Regions from separate parts of the Homo sapiens genome. Here region 2 is linked to region 1. The links are contacts of gene promoters, found by promoter capture Hi-C in blood cells and fetal thymus (Javierre and others, 2016). All regions are on one chromosome and are shown on one strand. Each heading gives the region's core, a stretch centred on a gene start or on the middle of the fragment in contact. The rest is flanking DNA. Distances are from core to core; before and after follow the strand shown. Region 1 holds the start of KCNQ1-AS1 (KCNQ1 antisense RNA 1). Region 2 overlaps KCNQ1 (potassium voltage-gated channel subfamily Q member 1).

Region 1 (7,319 bases), core at 2,296-4,795:
AGCAGCTGGTGACAGTGCTAGGGCGGGAGAAGGCGGCTGGCGTCTTTTAAATGTGTTAGGGAAAGGCCCCAGGTTACAGGATTGGGAATGCGCTGTTGTTGAGAAGTGGCCGAGGGAGTACGAGGACAGTTCAAATGCTCTGGGTCTACCCTCGAGTGTGGGGTGAACATGGCGATTGCAGCAGTGGGTCCACACGGCACCTCAGGGCCCAGGGAGGGTTTGGAGGCGGAGGGCAGCTGGGCTGCACTGTCTTCCCCAGAGGAAGATGGAGGCCTCTGGTTAATGAAGCAACCACAAGGGGTTAGGACCAAGAGATGTTTGTCTCAAATGGGTGTAACCATCCCATTTGAACTGTTTCCTGGAAAGAAATGAAAGGGGGATTCTGACGGGGCACCTGTTATTTTATTGATAGGAAATGGTTTCCATCCCGTGACCATGGAAATTTCCACGGTGCGTCCTGGCCGTGCATATTCTATGAGCCAGCTTCCCCCAGCCCACGGCATGTCACTGTGCTGGCACCCATGAGACAGTGCCCTGCAGGATGGGTGACAAGGGTGGCTGAGCCCTCCGGCCTCGGCCTCGGTGTCTACTGGAACCCCCCATTAGGTCCCCCAGGTGGGCCTTGAGTACCAGCAGGGGTGTGGGCCAGGCCCTGAGCTTCACCCTGAGGGGAAGGTGGATGGGACTCCTTTCAAGAGCCAGGTGAGGGAGGTGTGGCACAGGGCAAAGGTTGAGGCTCCTGGGTGTCCAGGGAAGAGCAGCCCCTGAGGGGCCTGAGGACACTCAGAGGAGGAATGGGTGGAGGAGAGCTGGCAGCCAGGGTGCCCGTGCAAGGGCGCAGCAGGGCAGGCTCAGTGATGTGGAGCTGGAGGGTGGGCATTGAGGCGGAGGTGGGGGGTGGGGGGTGCGGCTGTGAAGGTCACGCCAGGGCCAGGGTGCCAGAGTCAGACTGGTGGCAGTTGGGCCAGATTCACTCTGTCAGCTGACTTCAGTCCCAGCTGAGCCCAAGGCTGAGGGATCCGCCTGCACTTTCAGTCCTCTGGCTGAGCAAATTACGAAAGTATCACAGAATGTTTCAGGAACAGATGATTTTCTTTCTCTTTCTTTCTTTCTTTCTTTCTTTCTTTCTTTCTTTCTTTCTTTCTTTCTCTTTCTTTTTTCTTTCTTTATCTCTTCTTTTTCTTTCTTTCTCTTCCTTTCTTTTTCTTCTTTCTTTCCTTTCTTCCTCCCTCCTCCCTCCTCCTCCTCCTCCTCCTCCTTCTTCTCTCTTTCTTTCTCTTTCTCTTTTTTTTCTTTCTTTTTTGAGATAGGGTCTTACTCTGTCACCTGGGCTGGAGTATAGTGGCACAGTCATGGCTCTATGTAGCCTCCACCTCCCAGGCTCAAGTGATCCTTCCTGGGACTACAGGCGCGCCGCTACGCCTGGCTAAAAAAATCAGAAGATTTTTTGTAGAGATGCGACCTCGCCAGGTTGTGCAGGCTGGACTGGAACTCCTGCGCTCAAGCAGTCCTCCCGCCTCGGCCTCCCAGAGTGTTGGGATTACGGGCGTGAGCCACCGCGCCCGGCACCCTTTTCTTTTTAAAGGTCTGTGGCTGAGTTTTGTATTGGGAGTATTCTTACTTACCCAGAACGTGGCTCTGTCTCTGTTTCATCGCTGGTGGTGGAGCAAGTGAATCACCCACCAATGTATAGGTTTTCTAAGTTTGTGGTTGAAATTTTGCTAGTAAAGTGGACACATCACAAAGAAACTGCCTCCCTCCCTCACTCTGCCCAGCCTGCCCCAGCCCTAGGCTTCGAGGCAGGCCTGGGCTCCCGGAGGATGCTCCCTGGCGCTGTGGGGCCAGAGGCCTGGGCCAGGCTCCTGCTGGGGCTGGAGATGGGCGGGGTGGCGGAGGCCGGCCCTGGCCTGCCTCATTTCTGCGCTCCGACCAGCCTGGGAATCTGTTTCTGTCATGAAAGGCGAGGGTGACCTGGCGGGCTTCTGCTCCTGGTTGGTCAGAAAGTCCGGGGATCCTTGGCTCCGGTTAAAGGGGCCCCCACGTCTGCCGTCTTGCCCGGCCGCCTCCAAGTGCCGCCGGCCCAGGGCTGAGGAAGGCGGGCCGCGGGGAGAAGGCGCGAGGGCCGGGCCGGGCAGGGGGTCCCGGAGCCAACCCCACCGCCCGGGCCGCCCCGGGCCCGCGCCCGCCGCCCCCACCGCGCCGCGCGTCTGTTTGGAGAAGAAAGCGGGCCAATTTGTTTTCATTCAGAATCACTTAAGATCCCATTTTGGAGAAATGAAAAGAGAGAAGCGCGCTTCCCGGGCCCGGGCCGCTGGGTGCCCGCCCGTGCCCGGCGGCGCGTCGAGTGGAGGGACAGCGGCCCCCTCCCTGCCCTCGGCCCCAGCACGCCCGGCCGCGGCTCCCGGAGGTCCGAGGAAGGCGGCGAGGCCGCGCTCATCTGCATGAAGCGCACACTCGCGGCCCATCTGCAAAGGCGCAATTAAACGCGGGGGTGGGGGGGCAGGGGCGCCCGAAATTAGCATTTCCGCGGCCATCTGGCGCGAGGAGCGGGCGCGGCCGGACAAAGGGCGCCGGGCGAGGGGAGAGGCGAGTGTGCCGCGGCATTGACCTGCAAATGAGGCTTTGTGCGCGCATTAAAGCTCGCCGGACCCCCGACCCCGGCCCCCGCCCCGCCCGCCAGGCCCGCGGCCCCTAGCGGCCCAGGCTCGGACTGGGCACCCCGAAGGTCTGGGGGTCGGGCCGGGCAGTGCCGCGACTGGGCAGGGGGCCGGGCCGGGCCGGGCCTGGCCGGGCCAGGACAGGCTGTGGAGCGTCGGAGCCCCCCACCCAGGCTGGGTTCCTCTGCAGCCTCCAGGAGAGCCCCTGGGACCCTGGCCCCTTGAACCCTACCCCTGCCCCCATCCGGTCCTCGCCCCTCTGGGCCGGTATTCCCCAGCCTACTCCTGGAAAGGATTTCTCAGGACGCAGGGGTCCTGGCTAGAATCCCTCGGGGTGGGTAAGTGGAGGGGGCGTGGACAGGTGGGGGCTGCGTGGTGGGGGCAATTTTGTATTGGGAGCTACTAAAAACTGGCCACCTGGACAGGTTTTTGTTTTTGCCATGGTCATTAATGCCCTCAATGTTTGAAAAAGGCCATTTCACAGTGTTTTATGGGCCTTAAAAATCAGGGACTCTTTGAAAATGGTTGTGGGGCAGCTTAGTGACAGCCAGATGATTAGCAAGAGCTCAGTATCAGGTCTTTAGGGGACCAAGTGTGTGGGGTGGTGGTACAGGAAATCTGGGACTCCCCAGCTGGTACAACTGAGGCTGCAGCCAGGGCCAATGGGCCGGGGAGCAGGAGGCCGGGACTGGGAGCCCTGGGGCCAGCTGGGCTCTGCCAGATACCTGGGTCACTTGGAGGCCCCTGGAAGGCCCCCTGGACTTTCTGCCACATTGCTCAGGCTCTGGGTGCCTACAAACTGCCCCCCATGCCGTTGGGCTGCTCATTAGGGGTTGTGGCCCAAATTAAACTGCAGTAGCCACCCCCAGAACCTCCAAAGGCCTGGGGGGCAATGAGGGGCACAGAGGACAGTGTGTGGCTATCTCTGGGTCTCTGTTCTCCCAGGTGGACCAGTGGGGGTTGTGGCGATGCTGTCCAGGGTGAGGTCCAGCTACGGTTGCCGTCCTGTCTGTCAGCACCAGCACCCAGCACATCTGTAGGGCCTGGGCCCCGGACCCAGCCTGAGGGTTATGAGGAGGTTTCCTGAAGGAGAAAAGCCAGAGTGGAGTCTGGAATGGAGCAGGGGGGACCATGGCCTGCCCTCAGTCTGCTAGGTGGGGCTGGAACCTGGGGTTTTGCTTGGGTGTGAAGAAGGAAGAGGCTGGGGATGCAGCTAGGTGCTGGTTCCTCATAGACCGAGTCATGATTTATGGGGACCCTCAATTATATCCCCTTAGCAGGGGCCACAAAGTCTCAAATCTGCCCAGAAATCCACACCTCGGAGCTCAGGTGAGGTCTTCTTCAGGTTCTCCCTCTGCAGTGCAGATACTGTCAGAAAGAGCAAGCTACAAATGGAGAAGTCAACAACACTCTAGTGAGAATTACCCTGCCAATTAATTTTCTCAGAAATCGGGGACTCAGGGACCGGTGTGTAAACACGAGTCCCTTAATGGGGGGTTCAGACAGGGTGGGTGTGGGCACACAGGGGTCCGTGCTAAAGCCTGGCACTGGATCCCAGGTGTGGGGACTCCAGCTCCTCCCAAGGGGCAGGGGATCTCCCGTCTGTGATGTGGCTGAATGACTCACCGCCTCATCTGTGGGCCAACATGTGTGGTGGGGCAAAGGTCTCTGGCCTGGTAGCCGTGTGAGCTGGAGGGGGGGCACTTCTCCATCCAGGCCTTACAGTTTCCCTTAGGTAAATGGGGCAGAGTAACCCCCTCCTTCCCCTACCACAAGGGTTCTGGGAGGTGTGGAGCCTGGGGTGTGGTGGTGCTTGGCACTCCGTGTTCTTTGGAAGCTGGAATGAGGTTCCTCAGGCCAGTTATGGGTGTGAGATGTCTGGAAAAACGAAGTAGACTGGACGGTGGCCTCATCTATCTGTGCTGGGCTGGGCACCAGCACCTCGCTCTCCCAACCTCTTGGGGTGCGCCCATAGAGGAGATGGAAGCACAGAGGATTTCAGAAACTCCCCACCTTCAGTGTTGCCTTCAAAAGTATACTGCTGTGGCATGTGGGCAAGGAGGGTTCTGGGGATGGGTGGGCTGTGGGGGGAGTAGGCGCATGGGTGGGGTGGGCCCAGGGGAGCAGGCATGAACCCAGGGAGAGGGTGCATAGATGGGGTGGAACCCTAGGGCTTCTGAGGGACTGCAGTGCGGCTGGTCTGTGTGGACAGGCGCTGGAGGGGGCACTGTGCAGAGAGCAGGATGTGGGTGAGCCCCTCTTTCCCCTCTGTCCTTCCCATCCTCCAGGACAGGGAAGCAGCCCTCAGCAGACAGTGTGAACCCCATGCCCAGTGTGAGCATGAGCACAGCTCCCTGCGCTTTGTCTTCAGGAGGTCTCAGATCCAGCCTGCATTGGCTTCCAGCAGACCCCTATTTCCTAATCCTCAAGGGTTGTTCTTGTCAGGCATCCCATTTGCAATGCCCTCGAGGGCCGCTGCCCGTCTGGCAGGGAGATCAGCTTCAAGGACACAGACAGTGTCTGCGGTGGGTGCTGAGTGCCGTAGGGGAGACCCTGGGCTGCTTTTGGAAGAGGAGCATCATGGAAGAGGAGCCCTTTCGCTCTGGGCTTTGGAGGATGAGTAGGAGTTTGCTAAACCCAGATGGGGAGGAGGGCCAGTTTGGCAGGTGGCGTTTGGGAGGACCTGGGGCAGCTGCCACAGCATGCGCCGGGCCTGAAGATGCCTCCTGCGCCTGGGTTTCCAGCTCTTGCTTCCTGAGCCGAGTTGGAGCTGATATCCATGCCTCCCAGCCACGGGATGCTCTTTTCAGTGTGACCAACCAGGCAGAAGAGCTGAGTGACAGGCAACTCGTGGCCTGGTCTGTGGAAGGCAGGGCTGCCTCTGAGCCTGCGGGTTGGGGCCAGAGTCCGGGCCTGGGCCTGCCACTCAGGAGGGAGCCCGGGGCAGCCTGGAGGAAGCACTGGGCCCTGGGGCCCGGCTGCAGAATCGGGGTGTACCCTGCACTGCGGAGGGCCTGGCTGTCCCTGGGGCTGATGACTGGGTGTGGGTGGGGACGGGCCCCAGTGGCCTGAGAACACTCGCACTTCCCTGCCCCCTCTGTCCCTCTCTTTACACCTGGCCCATAAGCGGCCAGTCTGGCTGGAGACCCTAAGCTGGAGAACCACTGGAAAAGAAATGGTTACTTTCTGCCTGGAGAGGGGGTATTAAGCCTCACCTGGGGCTGAGGCCTGGTCTCTTTAGGGCCTCCATGGAGCCCACGTGGCTCCCAGGTGCAGCCATTCTCCTCCACGAGGTGCTTGGGGGATTTGGCTGAAGCCAGGGCCAAAAAGCCAAAGCCTCTTCCTCCATAGCCTTTGCCCAAATGCAGAGGCCAGGGCTGGGGATAGGGGGAGGCGATGAGGGACCAGCTATGGCTGGTGGTCTCAGGTCCTGCAGGATGGTAAGGAGGGGAGGGTGGGCGGGTCTCCTGTCTTCGATGCAACTCACGCAAGGGCTGTCCTGGTGTCTTCTTGTCAGCTTGCTGCCGAGGCTGCCACCTCAGCTGCCTGTCTGTGAAATGGGTCCATGTGTCCCCATGCCTTGGCCCGTCTCCTCTTCCCTACAACAGGCTGCTGTGCAGCCTGGGGCCCTTTCCAGGCCACCTTCTCCATCTGCTCACTGAGGAGGGACCCCTGAGTCAGCGAGGCTCCAGCTTGGCTGCACCCAGCTGAAAGGTGAGTTGGTTCCCAGCCTCAGGCTCCTCATACGTAAGATGGGGCAGCAATGCTTGGCAAGTTCAAAGGAGATCCCTGTTAATGCTTGGCTTGGAGACTCCCTTGAGCCCACTCTGGGCTGCAGGAGGCCCTGGTTGTGGGGCAGGGTCTCTGCCACCTTCACCAGCCATCCTCACACTTGTGGGTGCCCCAGGGTGGGGCACGTCCCAGCCCTCTCTCTGGTCAGCAGAGGCTAAGTGAGGCCTGGGCTCAGGCACCAGAGGGCCCAGGTAGGGGAGGCGGCCGCCAGGTCAGGCCAGGCCGGCTCCAGCGGAGGCTGAATGGGCACTCTGTCCTGCCACCCTCGGCTGTCATCTGCCGCTGGGATTTGGTTTCCTGGACTGGTGCGGCTGCAGGTGGATTCTGCAAGGCCGGGTGACCTCGCAGCTTGGAGCCCCCGTGTCTCCTGAGCCAGGCGGTGGCCGGGGGGTGGGAGACAATGAAGCCTTTTCCTGGGGAGCAGGGGCCAGTCCGCGTAGGGGAAAGCAGTCTGCCTGTGCCCTGAGGCCTCTTGGGCTCGCTGGCGGCAAGAGGGGCCGCTCGGGACAGCGGTGCCAGGCCTTGGCAGGGCTCTCTGCAGGCTGGGCCAGCCAGGCGCCGGGTAACTGAAGCCACCTGGACACACGCGGGGGCTGTGGAGCGTTTTCGGGACACAGTTCTGCCTGCTTCACCTCAAGGATGGTGGCAGGGGGGCCATGGGGGAGGGAGGGAGGAGTGTGTTCGTGGCACCAGGGGCCTGGGGACTGACCCCCACTGGCCTCTCTGCTCCCTAGCGCAGCCTGGCTTCTGCTGAGATGAGGGCTGGGGCCGGCCCTCTCTGCTGGCTCCTCCGGAGGCACAGGTGCTCCTGGTAGTGCAGGGAGTGAAATTGTCTTGCCCCCCGCCCTTGTTCTTTGGGCCACGAGTTAA
Region 2 (7,319 bases), core at 3,365-5,864, 220 kb after region 1:
TACTGAATTCTACCAAACCTTTAAAGAACTAACATGAATTCTTCTCAGACAATTCCAAAAGACTGAAGAGAAAGGAATTCTCCCTAACTCATTCTGTGAGGCAAGCAGTATCTTGATACCAAAACCAGATAAGGACACAATAACAGCAAAAAAGAAAACTACAGGCCAATCTCCCTGATGAACATAGATGCAGAATCCTCAGAAACAAAACACACACACAGACACACAAACTAGCAATCTGAATCCAATCGCACATCAAAAAGATAATACACCATAATCAAGTGGGATTTATCCCAGGGATTCAAGGATGGTTCAACATATACAAATCAATAAATGTGATACATCACATTAACAGAAGGAAGGACAAAAAAATACATGATCATCTCAATAGATGCAGAAAAAGCATCTGATAAAATTCAAAATCTCTTCATGATAAAAAAAAAAGCTCATCACATAATGTCTAGAAGGAACATAACTCAATGAAGGTCATATATGACAAACCCACAGCCACCTGGGGAAAAGCTAAACACCTTCTCTCTTAGAACTAGAACAAGACAAGGATGCCCACTTTCACTATTCTTATTCAGCAGAGTAAGAAAAGTCCTCACCAGAACAATTAGGCAAGTAAAAGAAAAAGGGTATCCAAATTGGAAAAGAGAATGTCATATTGTCCTTTGCAGATGGCATAATCTTATACATAGAAAAACCTAAAGATTCCACCAAAATCTTTTAGAACTGGTAAAGGAATTCAATAAAGTTGCAGGATAAAAAAATCAACAAACAAAAATTAGTAGGTGTGGACATGATGGCTCATGCTTGTAATTTCAGCACTTTGAAAGGATGAGGCGGGTGGATTGCTTGAGCCCAGGAGTTTGAGACTGTCCTGGGCAACATGGCAAAACCTCATCAGTACAAAAATGAGCTGGGCGTGGTGGCCTGCACCTGAAGTTCAGCTACTCAGGAGGCTGAGATGGGAGGATCACTTGAACCTCGGAGGTGAAGGTTGCAGTGAGCAGAAATTGCACCATTGCACCCCAGCCTGGGCAACAGAGTGAGACCCTGTCTGCACTCCCCTGCCTCCCCCAAAAAATCAGTAGCATTTCTGTGAAACAGCAAATTAGCCAAAAGAGAAATGAAGAAAGCAATCCCATTTGCAATAGCTACAAAAAAAAGCAAAGCTTAACCAAGGAGGTGAAAGATTTCCACAATGAAAACTATAAAATACTGATAACAGTAATTGAAGAGGCTACAAAATTTTTTGAGACATCCCATGCTCATGGATTGAAAGAAAAATGTTAAAATGATCATATTTACCTATAGCAATATACAGATGCTATGAAATCCCTATCCAGATATCAGCAGGGGCTTCAAGATGGCTGACTAGAGGCATCTGGCACTCACCTCCTCCACAAAATATAGCAAGTAGGTAACCACAGTTTATATAGATCGCCTCTGAGAGAATGCTGGAATTCAACTGAGAAGTAATAAGAAAAACCCAATGCAAGGGATAAGAGGGGAGTCAGGCAGTCTGCTTCTATGGGACTGGCTGGGATCATGAAGAGACTCCTCGATGTGCAGAAAGGTAAGTAAGTGAGCCCCTAGTGGTCCACATTCCCACAGCAGACTCCTGAAATCCTAGTCAGAGAACCCCCTGACCCATAGATGCCTTGAGACTAACAAGAGGCTACCTACAGACTGTGAAATGGCAATGAACAGCTCCCAGAGAGGGAGATCACCCTGAATCCTCAGGCAATTCACACATCCCCTGAATCCTCAGGCAACTTCAGGAAAGTCCCATTTTGATAGCCCAACCCCCACCAGACTGCATCTGCTGTGGGCCCCACATCCCTCTATCTCATCCCTGGAGCCCCATGGACATCCCTTACACAAAGCTGGTTGCCACTCCTGACTGCTCCCTCCAGGCCAAAGCATGAGCCATTGGCAATACTCTGCTACCTCCGAAGCAAGGCTGCCATGAGGAAAGGTGACCCTGCCCATAGTCACCACCTGGGGCCGAAGCATGCATTGCCCAACTGCCTGTTTATAGCTGCTGCCACTGAAAGCAATCCCACTCAACTTCCCCAGGAGTAGGGCTGCAATAGAGTTGCTGCTGCCCCAACATGAGCATTCAGCAGGGTATACAGGGATCTTCCTGTGCCTGCCTACCACAGTCAGTACATTCTTGCATTACTGGAGGGCCTCAGGACAGGCCCACCTGGCCTGGTCCCACCCTCTTTTCTCCCAGTGCCAGCGCATACCATCTCTGGGCCTAGGGATCACCCTGCCCTATCCAGTATTGTTGGCACCTGAGCACTCCTGGGGGCTTGAGGACTGCCCTACCCAACTGACCATTACCACCACAACTGGCATTCACTTGAATTTGCCACCTGTGGGCCTTGGGACAAGCTCATCCAGCTTATCCCAGCCATCCCAATACCAGCATGGACACCTTGGGAGGCAGAAGATTGTTCTGCCACTGCTACTGCCATTGCCCAAGCCATATCTGCTGCTCAGAGCTCAAGGACCTACCCACCCTGTGGCCCAGCTCTGTCATCATTGGCACCTGAGCAAGTTGCCTGGAGGCCCAAAATTGGTTTCCCTGGACTTGCTAACACTGGTACCAGCATACACTACCATTGGGCCCAAGGATAAGCATTCGGGGCCAGCCACTGCTGCCACTGGGGCCTGAGGACTGGCCCAGCTGGTGTCCCTATCCCCAGCCAGACTTTACCACAGCCTCCACCAACAACTGCATCCTAAACTACAGAGGAACTCCCAGACACTACTGGTGCTGTTTACAGCTGAAAAAAATTCCATGGAGATCACACTACTGCAGGCACCCAGAATCAAAACCAAAGTGCCCTGCCCAAAGAACACCATAGATATATCTTCAGGAACAAGACTCTCTTAGGAAAGACAGATCAAAAAATTGGAAGAAACTACTGTTACACCAGATGTGCAGATACCAGTGTAAGCACACAAGAAACATGAAAAGGCAAAACATGACAACTCCTAAGGAATGCAATAATTCTCCAACAGATTCCAGTGAAAAAGAAATTGATGAAACCTTGAAAAATTCAATATAATATTAAAGAAGATCTGATAGACTATACAAAGAAATCAGAAAAAACAATTCGGGGTATGAATGAGAAATTTGCCCAAGAGATAGATATAAAAAGAACCAAACAGATATTCTGGAATTGAATAATAGATTGAATGAAATAAAAAACATATTTGAAAGCTTCAATAACAGACCACAACAAGCAGAAGAAAGAATTTCACACCTTGAAGATAAGTCTTTTGAAATGACTCAGACAAAAATATAGAAAAAATAGAAAAGAATGAACAAAGGCTATGTGACTATAGGATGCCATAAGGTGACACCTTCAGTGTCCCAGAAGGTGAAGAGCAAACCAAAAGATTATAAAACCTATTTAATGAAATAATACCTGAACACTTCCCAATCTCCCAAGAGATTTAGATCCAAATATAGGAATCTCAGAACCCTAAATAGATACAATTCAGAAAGGTCTTTTCCACAGCACATTATAGCAAATTGCCCATCCCAAGACAAAGAGAGAATCATAAAACCAGCGATAAAAGAGGTTGTAGACACTTACAAGGGAACAACCTGCAGACTAACAGATTTTTCAGCAGAAACTTTACAGGCCAGGAGGATGGGATTATATACGCAGAGTGCTGAAAGAAAAAACAAAACCAAAAACCTGCCAGCCAGGAATACTGTACTTAGCAAAGTTATATTCGTCAGAAATGAAGGAGAAATAAAGTATTTCCCTTAAAAGTAAAAGCTCAGGGAATTAATTGCCACTACACTGGCACTACAAAAAATGCTTAAGGGAGTCTTACAGGAAGAAGTGAAAGGACAACTTCATGAAAGCACACAAAATAATCAGAAATCAATTAATGACAGGAATAAGCCCTCACATATCAACAATAACCTTGCATATAAATAGATTAAACTTTCTACTTAAAAGACAGACTGGCTGAATGGACTTAAAAACATGACCCATCTAAATGCTATCTACAAGAAACGCATCTCACCTGTAAAGACACATAGTTGAAAGAAAGGAATGGGAAAAGATATTACATGCAAAAGGAAACAAAAACCAAACAGGAGTAGCTATACTTTCATCAGATAAAACAAAGGTTAAGCTAAAAACACTAAAAAGAGACGAAGTCATTATATAGTGACAGAGGGATCAATTGACCAAGAGGATATAACAATTCTAAACATATATGCACCCAACACCAAAGCACCCAGATATATAAGGCAAACATCAAATCTGAAGGGAAAGGTAGACTTCAACACAATAATCTTGGGAACTTCAATTCTCCATTTCCAGTATTAGACAGATCATCTAGACAAAAAATTAACAAAGAAACATTGGATTTAAACTGCACTTTATACCAAATGGACCTAACAGACATTTACAGACCAGTTCATAAAACAGCTGCAGAATATACACTCTTCTCATCAGTACATGGAACACTCTCCAGGATACATTATATGTTAGGACACTAAGTATGATTTTAAATATATATATATTTTAAATTGGATTCATATCACATATCTTCTCAGACCACAATAGCATAAAACTATAAATAAATAAGAGGAGCATTCAAAACTGTATAAATAAATGGAAATTAACATGTTCCTGAATGACCAATGGGTCAAAGAAGAAATTAAGGCAGAAATAAAAAATTTACTGAAACAAGTGAAAATAGAAGCACAACATTCTGAAACTTAAGGGATACTGCAAAAGCAATGCTAAGAGGAAAGTTTATTGTAATAAATGCCTCCATTAAAAAAGGTAGAAAAGATCTTAAATAATCTAATGATACACCTGAAGGAACCAGAAAAGCAAGAACAAACCATACTAAACATAAAATTAGTAGAAGGAAAGAAATAACGAAGATCAGAGCAGAACTAAACAAGAAACTAAATAAATATAAAGGATCAATGAAATGCAAAATCGGTTTTTGAAAAGAAACAAAATAACCAGTGGCTAAACTATCCAAGAAGAAAAGAGAGAAGACCTACATGAATAAAATCAAAAATGAAAAAGGGGATATTACAACTCATACCATGAAATACAAAAATCAAAACTCTTCAGTCTGATCAATAAATTGATTACAGTTACAGGATTTAAAAATCAGGCTTATTTCTATATACCAATAAAGAACCAGCTGAGAAAGAAATCAAGAAGGCATTATCTTTTACAACCACTACAAAAAATCTAGGAATGAGTTTAACCAAAGAGGTGAGAAACCTCTAACAAGGAAAACTACAAAAGTCTGATGAAAGAAATTGAAAAGAACACACAAAAAACATCCCATTCTCATGGATTGGGAGAATTAACAAAATTAAAATGACCATACTACCCAAAGCAATCTACAGATTCAATGCAGTCTCTCTCAAAATACCAATGCCATTTTTCATGGAAATAGAAAAAATCCTAAAATTCAGATGGAACCAAAAAAGAGCTGGAATAGCCACAGCAATTCTGAGCAAAAATAACAAAGTTGGATGCATCACACTGCCTGATTTAAAAATATAAGGCTATAGCATTAAAAGCAGCATGGTATTGGAATAAAAACTGATAGACCAATGGAACAGAGTAGAACCTGGAAGTAAATCCATGTATTTACAGCCAACTGATTTTTGACAAAGATGCCAAGAACATACACTGGGAAAAGAGCACCCTCTTCACTTAATGGAGCTGGGAAAATAAGATATCCATGTGAAAAATGAAACCGTTTCTATCTCTTGCTATACTAAAATCAACTCAAGATGGGTTAAAGACTTAAACATGAGGCATGAAACTATAACATCACTATTAATGAAGGAGACATTGGGGAAACACTTTAGGACATTGGTCTAGGGAAAGATTTTATGGATAAGACCTCAAAAACACAGACAAAAACAAAAATAGACAAATGGGACTATATTAAATGATAAAGCTTGTACACAACAAGGGAAACAATCACCAGAGTGAAGAGACAGCCTGTTGAATGGGAGAAAATATTTGCAAACTACTCATCTGACAAGGTACTAATACCAGAATATACTAGGAACTCCAATAACTCAATAGTAAACAACAAATTAATTCCAATAAAAAGTGAGCAAAAGACATGGATAGATATTTCTCAAAAGAAAACATACAAGTAGCCAACAGGTATATTTAAAAAAAAAAGCCCAACATCAGTAATTATAAGGGAAATGCAAGCCAAAACCATAGTGAGAATGGCTATTTTAAAAAGACAAAAATTAACCAATGCTGGAGAGGATGTGGAGGGAACTCTTATACACTGTTGGTGGGAATGTAAATTAATACTATAGAAAACAGTTTGATTTCTGAAAAACCTAAAAAGAGAAATATGACATAATCCAGCAATCTCACTACTGGATATTTATCTAAAGGAAAAGATATCAGTATACTAAAAATGTACCTGCATCCCCGTGTTTATTGCAGCACTATTCACAACAGCAAAGATATGGACTCAGGAACCTAAGTGTACATCAGTGGATAAATGGAAAAAGAAAATGAGGTAAATATATACAATGGAATACTAATTGACCAAAGAAGAATGAAATCATGTCCTTTGCAGCAACATGAATGGAGCTGGAGGTCATTATTTTAAGCCAGGCACAGAAAGATAATTATCTTATGTTATTATCATATGTGGGAGCTATAAAAGTTGATCTCATGGAGGTAGAGAGTAGAAGGATAGATACCAAAGGCTGTGAAAGGTATGTCTGGAGGGTGAAGAGAGGTTGGTTAGTGGGTAAAAATACACAGCTAGTTAGAATAAATAATTTATAATGTTTGATAAGAGTTGGTTGACTATATTTAACAATATAATGTATATTTCAAAATAAAAAAGAGGACTTGAAATGTTCCTAACTATAGAGATGATAAATTGAGGGTGATGGATACCCTGACTTGATCATTACACATTCGATGCATGTAACAATAGCACATGTACCCCATAAGTATTATGTATCGGTCAAAAAAAAAAAAAAAAGGAAATCCCAGTGCTTTGGGGGGCCAAGGCAGAAGGATCGCTTGAGCCCAGGAATTCAAGACCAGCCTGGGCAACAATGCACGACCCTGTCTCTACAAAAAATTAAGAAGTTATCCAGGCATGGTGGTGCATGCCTGTAGTCCCAGCTACTTGAGGGGTCAAGGATGGAGAATGACTTGAGCCTGGGAGTTAAAGATTGCAGTAAGTGGGGTGGTTCCAAGATGGCCGAATAGGAGGAGCTCCAGTCTATAGCTCCCAGCGTGAGTGACGCA

What was found. Contacts are between HindIII fragments. The CHiCAGO score rates a contact against its expected background, and 5 or more counts as called.
Region 2: a contact is called between a fragment that was not itself captured here and the fragment with the promoter of KCNQ1-AS1 in region 1, in 2 of 17 cell types (M2 macrophages and megakaryocytes). The highest score is 5.7, in M2 macrophages.

The regions. Positions count from the first base shown.
Region 1 is chr11:2,857,795-2,865,113 of GRCh38, reverse strand. KCNQ1-AS1 (KCNQ1 antisense RNA 1) reads left to right here and starts at 3,545. Exons shown (of 3, transcript NR_130721.1): 1 at 3,545-4,124; 2 at 6,175-6,371. RefSeq lists enhancers at 1,458-2,155, 6,384-7,319. The HindIII fragment of the contact is 10,846 bases long and covers 1-7,319 here.
Region 2 is chr11:2,640,291-2,647,609 of GRCh38, reverse strand. All of the region lies in intron 10 of KCNQ1 (potassium voltage-gated channel subfamily Q member 1), which reads right to left. It overlaps KCNQ1OT1 (KCNQ1 opposite strand/antisense transcript 1), which reads left to right. Exons shown (of 1, transcript NR_002728.4): 1 at 1-7,319. Among named protein-coding and RNA genes, the nearest start is that of KCNQ1OT1, 56 kb to the left of the region's middle. The HindIII fragment of the contact is 2,741 bases long and covers 3,244-5,984 here.